Regions from separate parts of the Homo sapiens genome. Here region 2 is linked to region 1. Evidence: promoter capture Hi-C in 16 types of primary human blood cells and fetal thymus (Javierre and others, 2016). All regions are on one chromosome and are shown on one strand. Each heading gives the region's core, a stretch centred on a gene start or on the middle of the fragment in contact. The rest is flanking DNA. Distances are from core to core; before and after follow the strand shown. Region 1 holds the start of CALCRL (calcitonin receptor like receptor). Region 2 has its middle 120 kb from the start of NUP35.

Region 1 (3,022 bases), core at 28-2,527:
AAAATCATATCTATCAACATCATTTAAAATTTGACATCAAACTTTCTCCAGCAACAAATTTGTGATATATCTACACAAACAATTTATTAAGCAGACATTAGTTTCTTAAATTGTTCAGGACAGTCTGTACTATCGGAATGAGCATTAACAGATGTTTTATCCAACATTTCAGTAAGTTCCATCCTGGAAATTCTTTTTTAATAAATACTTTAATTTCTTTGTTTAATCGTCTAATATACTTCTTTGGGAAAGCTGTCACGTTTCTTTATCCACAGATATCGTGGTATCACACCCCCCTCCAAAAGCTTGCAGAGGGGAACCAGTCAAGTTGAAGTATTCTCTTAAAGATTTCAAAATTAAGAATTGTTTTAAAAATCTACATTTCCTAAACTCTAGGTTTTTTTTTTTCTTTGTAGCCGACACCATGATCCAAATAAAGAGCAAACAGTTCAGGGTTAGCAGAAGAGAGATTTAAACACATCTGGCAACAATGAACACAAAAATTAGTTCAGTAGTTACAGATATATGTGTAAATAAAGGTGAAAGGCAAATAAAAGCAAATGTAATAAATACAAAGTGATTACTTTTCAAAACTCTGCATTATGATCAACCACAGAGTAAGTGAGACTCCGAGACCCATTAAGTAGTTATTCTTTCACCTCTTTCTTACAGCTGATAACATGGAAAGTTTAAAGACCCTTCCGGGGGGAGAAATGTTTTCCAGTTGTCAAGATTCAAGCTTAGCTAATATTAGAGCTAATTTTAAAAGACATTGTTCTGTGATTAAGGTATTTGTTCAGAAATATGTCTTTTAATCCATTTAGATTTTTAATACTTGCTAAATTTATTTTCTAGAATACCATGGTAAACAATATTATCTAGTAGTATTAGATTTTGTATTCATGTTGGGGTAGTAGGCTGTATTTTCTCTAGCATGTGAAATAAGTGAGACTATGTTTCAACATTATTTCAGTGCTATCTACTAAATTCTATAATAGAAACATTGCCAAACTATATGAGAATACTACTTAGAATAAATATATTTATTTTGAATGTGCACTTACCCAGTCCAGCTCTTAAGGAAATTCTTTGTGAAATATTCTCAGGATGGAACTTTACTTTCTGAGATTCCGCAGAAGAGATTTACCCACAAGCAAGGTGGGAAAGAGTGAAAGCTTTGCAATGTGATCCTGCAATTAGGATGAGATTCAGTTAGCAGAGCTTGATGGTCCTAAAGCAGGAGGTGACACTCTCTGCTGGAGAGAGAGAGGTTGTTCTGAGTAGATTGTAAGTGTTGTCAGATTGTAAGTGATCAGCAGCAGAAGGGAAACATCAGAGCTTCCTGTTACATCACTCTGACCCCGCCTGCAGTTAGTGTTAGGTTACTTTCTTTCTCAAATAGCATACCCCAGGAAAGCAGCACTCCTTTCTTATTGTGAGACAAGAGCAAGAAGCAGCCTGAACAGAGAGAGATCATAGGCTGTGTGAATACATTGTTACCAGTAAAAAGCTGGCTGGCTTTCACCTTGACTGAGTTCTGTTAGAACTTGCCAAACAAGCTACTTGTGATTTGAAGGAAATCTGAATATAGTATTCTGCTCAAAGAATCAAAGGAGTTAGGCGTGTGTGTGTGTGTGTGTGTGTGTGTGTGTGTGTGTGTGTTGAATTATAGCTTACAAAGTATCCAGGAAAAAAAATCTAACAAATCTGTGTTCATAGCACAACACAGAAAAAAAAATTAACTGTATTCATCATAACTGGTTTTGTGATTTGGCTCTTCTTAATTTGGAGCTCTGCTAATTGGGTGCTGTTCCTCCATCAGTTCCTAAGTGCAGTTCCTAATCAGTTAATTAGATCAAGAAACTTTATCCTGCAGTTTTTAAATCTTTTATTTTTTCCTTTACCTTCTTCATAAGAACATGAGTGTATGTGTTATAAATTCAGGTTGTGTATGTGTGTGTATAGAGTGTTTCTTTTATAATATATAAGTATATATATTTGACAAAATAGCCTTTTGAATAATTCATAATTTTAAAATTATTGCACACATTTAAAAATATTTGGTATAATTATGTTATTTATAATATAAAATAATTTATACCACAATATTTGTAAGTCAATATAATCTTAAAGAAAATATAGATGTTGTAAACATAATATTATAAAATAATATAAATACAAAGGATACTTTATTTCTTAGACAAAATTTCATCTCAAAGCATAGTTTTTCCTGAATATGTTTAATACATCATTGGATATGATCAGGGGAAAATGTAAATTTAAAATGCTTTTATCATTTTTATAATTTGGTAAATGTTCGATATGAAGCAATAATTATAATCCCTATAACCTAAACAGCACTAAAAGTCACTTAATTTATCAGGGCATAAATTTTCTCATCTATAAACTAGAAGAGATAGATTTTATGTCTAAGGCTTTGAATCGACAAATTTCATAACATTTTGAAATAGATAAGATACGGTGAGGATCATTCAACTCTTAGTAAATTGTTAGTGCAATTCCAGGATAAAATGAGGTGCCATACACCTTGTAGGCAGACAAAGGAGGTAAAGGCAAAATAAATTCAGGAATATCATGTTTTTAAAGCAGGGTGCTCATGTTGACATTTTTATTGTCTGAATTAGTGGAAGAAAATGTTTATACAATCTTTGATTTTAAGACCAGTGAGATCAATATTGATTACAAAATACAGACATATAAAAAATAGATATACTTTCATCTCTATAATTATGGTTAATAGAAAAGACTTGTAAGAAACTGAGTTACACTGGTGAACCGGTTCTGATACTGTCTGGTGTGATCTTGACAAAGCTTTTTAGGCTTCATGTTCCCATCTTGAAATTCAGAGAAAAACAAATACTAGATTTAATATGAAAGTAATAATGGGTCATGTCTTCTCATCTTCCATGCTAAGTGTAATATATGAATCCTATAAAGAGATTAATATATAGTTTTTGAATTTAATTAAATCATGGAAAACTAAAACTTTTCCCAATATGTT
Region 2 (2,739 bases), core at 4-2,503, 4.2 Mb before region 1:
AACTGAGTTTCCTTGCTCCTTCTTTTTCAGTGTTTTCTCCATTCTTCTTTCTCACAGTTAGTTTCCTGAGTATATTCCTCTTGCACAGAAGGCTATACGGCCATCTCAACATTGACGATACATGATCTTTTAGCTTAAATCCTTGTGTCAGATGGACTCAGACTTCCAGTGCCTCAATTCTAAAATCCTTACAGATAAATCTTATTAATTGTTAGCAATATGCAGCTGAGCTTAGCTCAGGAGCCCCTCCCTGACTACTCTGATGTGTTCAAGGATTAACAAGTATGGTCATGCAGACTTGAATGAGGTAGTCTCTATTGAAGTAGTTGTGGTTTGAGTAGACATTCATACTTGTGTCTATTACAGTCCCTATGCTGTGTCTAAATCCATGGCCTTAAAACTTTTTCCACCACAACCCAGAGGAATAAATACGTTTTTAAATCCCATTCCAGCATTCATCTATGTATAAATTCTTGAAACAGTACTTTCCCTTATTACATGTGATACACTCTCATATTTCCTTTTTTTATTTATTTCTATCTCAATTCATTCCATTAAATAAAAGCTTGGTGGTCTTGGCTAACATAATTGATTTCATGACTCACTAATGATTTGCAACTTTAGTTTCAAAAGCACTGGTCTTCATATTGTTTTCCTTTGTAGCTCTTATAATTACAGTTGGCACTTCTGTTATATTTTTGTAGTTTTCTTTGTAGCAGATATCACAATTATAATAGCCTCCCTTGTTAAACTGTAAACCACATTAAAGCAGAGACTGTGTCTGTCTTGTTTACTTCTGTATTCCCAGCACCTAACAGAGTTCCTGGCACACAGTAGATGCTCAATTGAGTAAATATTGATGAATGAGTACAAGAAGACCCAAACAGATGGCACCCTTAATGGCTCACCTGGTTCTTTGCAAGGAGGAGATTCAGATACATATAAAATTCGCTAATTTGGTATAGCCCTGCTGATAGAGAAAGCAGATGGAAAGGCCCAGCAGGAGGCTCAGTGGAGCAAGCAGGCCAGGCCAGAGAGCTAGGTTCCCACATAGTTACCGACAGCTGAGTGAAATTCTTTCACCAGGGAAAATTGACTGTTTTAAGGGAAGGATCTGTGTCAGGGCTGAGCTCAGGTCTCTTGATTCTTTATCTAAAATGTATTCCACCACACTACAATGACTTTTTGGTTAGATTTCCAAAATTTCATTTTTGGTATTTTAATTTTTCCCTTTTTAGCTCATAATAAAGAAAGATGGAGAAAGAACCACACTTTTTTTTTTTTTTGACATAAAACACCATGGTACCTGTTTTCCAATGAGATGAAGACATCTGGTTAGGGAGATTAATAGCACACAGAGCTCTCTTCCCTCTCCTCTTGCTATCCTTATCCTATTTAGTGACTGACTCCCATCCCATCAAGATTCATTTAACTAACTTCTGCAATATATGACTCCTACTTTTCTGTAACAGTTATTTCAAAAACTACTTTTCATAAGTGGATATTTTAAATGGTGTCACCTACTTTCTTTTCCCATATGCACAGATTTTGAATCTATAGGACAATTTAATCATTATTATGGTTTCATCTATAGATTTACTGAATAATCTATAGTTACAAAGCTGAATTTATATAAAAAGCAATTCACAGATTGATAAACTTTCTATATAGCTTCCTGGTGTCCTCAAAGCAGGGCTGAGAGGACTATTACTTTAACGCTCAATCAGTTTCATCTGTTCTAAATATTAATTTATAAGGTGAGAATACTCCACTTCTCAAAATTAGCCAACTTAATATTGAATTAAATGGTCAAAGTACAATTCAATTTATTATAACTGGGTATGATATGTAAATTTATCATCCACACATATTCATAACTCTTTTGGGAGGGGAGAATTTATATGTCAGGCCAGTGTTTCTCAACCCTTTTTAATAGACTGTGTAAGCTTGCAGGGTACAGTAGACAGACTTCTACTTCTACTTCTACAGTAGACTGACTTCAGACAGTAGGGAAGCTTCCTTCTGTTGTAGATGACCATTCCAGCTTTAGTCAAATAAATATGGGAATACCTGAAGCAGGTATAAATTTTGTCCACAGTACTTGAATTAATGCATTCATAGCTTTTGGGGGGCAATCCTTTGCTCTTCAGTCCAATCCCATTTGATTCCTTAAAGAGAGTAGCTCTATACATTTTGTACTAAGCTCAGAGTGGGAATTTTTGCTAGGGCTGAAACTCTTGGCCTCTTGTGTTACATCTTCTCAGAACCTTCTCAGAAGGTTCACTTTCGTCTAAGGTTCTGCTAATTCTCCTGGCACTCTGGGAGCACGGTTCTGGTTTCTGCTCTATGAGTGACCCATAAACTCTGCCAATTTATTCTAAGTCCCACTGAGAAAAATTCTTAAAGAGTTACTATTTGTCATTTAGGATATATTTTACATAAAGAGTAAATAAATATACATGTATGTACACACATATGTGTATATATATGTATAATGAATATGTATACACGCATATATATGTTATACTACGCTTTCTCTTCCTATAAATATATACTCTATATGTAGTCTAAAAATGCTTTGTTATTGAAGATCTGTTTAGCTAGTAAGTTTCTTTTCATTCATGAAAAAGACAAAATATATGTTTCTAGAGGTTATTTAGTAATTACATAACATAAATTGGATATAGAAGTTATATAAAGTTTAATCTCTAATACTGTAAAAATATCTCTTGAGGGTAT

What was found. The method cuts DNA at HindIII sites, captures the fragments that hold promoters and counts their contacts. A CHiCAGO score of 5 or more calls a contact.
Region 2: a fragment that was not itself captured here is called in contact with the fragment with the promoter of CALCRL in region 1 in 1 of 17 cell types (total CD4 T cells); the score reaches 5.1 in total CD4 T cells.

What each region holds. Positions count from the first base shown.
Region 1 is chr2:187,446,975-187,449,996 of GRCh38, forward strand. It overlaps CALCRL (calcitonin receptor like receptor), which reads right to left and starts at 1,278. Exons shown (of 15, transcript NM_005795.6): 1 at 1,065-1,278. The region is part of intron 2 of CALCRL-AS1 (CALCRL and TFPI antisense RNA 1); the gene reads left to right. The HindIII fragment of the contact is 1,657 bases long and covers 1,174-2,830 here.
Region 2 is chr2:183,243,665-183,246,403 of GRCh38, forward strand. No RefSeq gene overlaps it. Among named protein-coding and RNA genes, the nearest start is that of NUP35, 120 kb to the left of the region's middle. The HindIII fragment of the contact is 1,381 bases long and covers 564-1,944 here.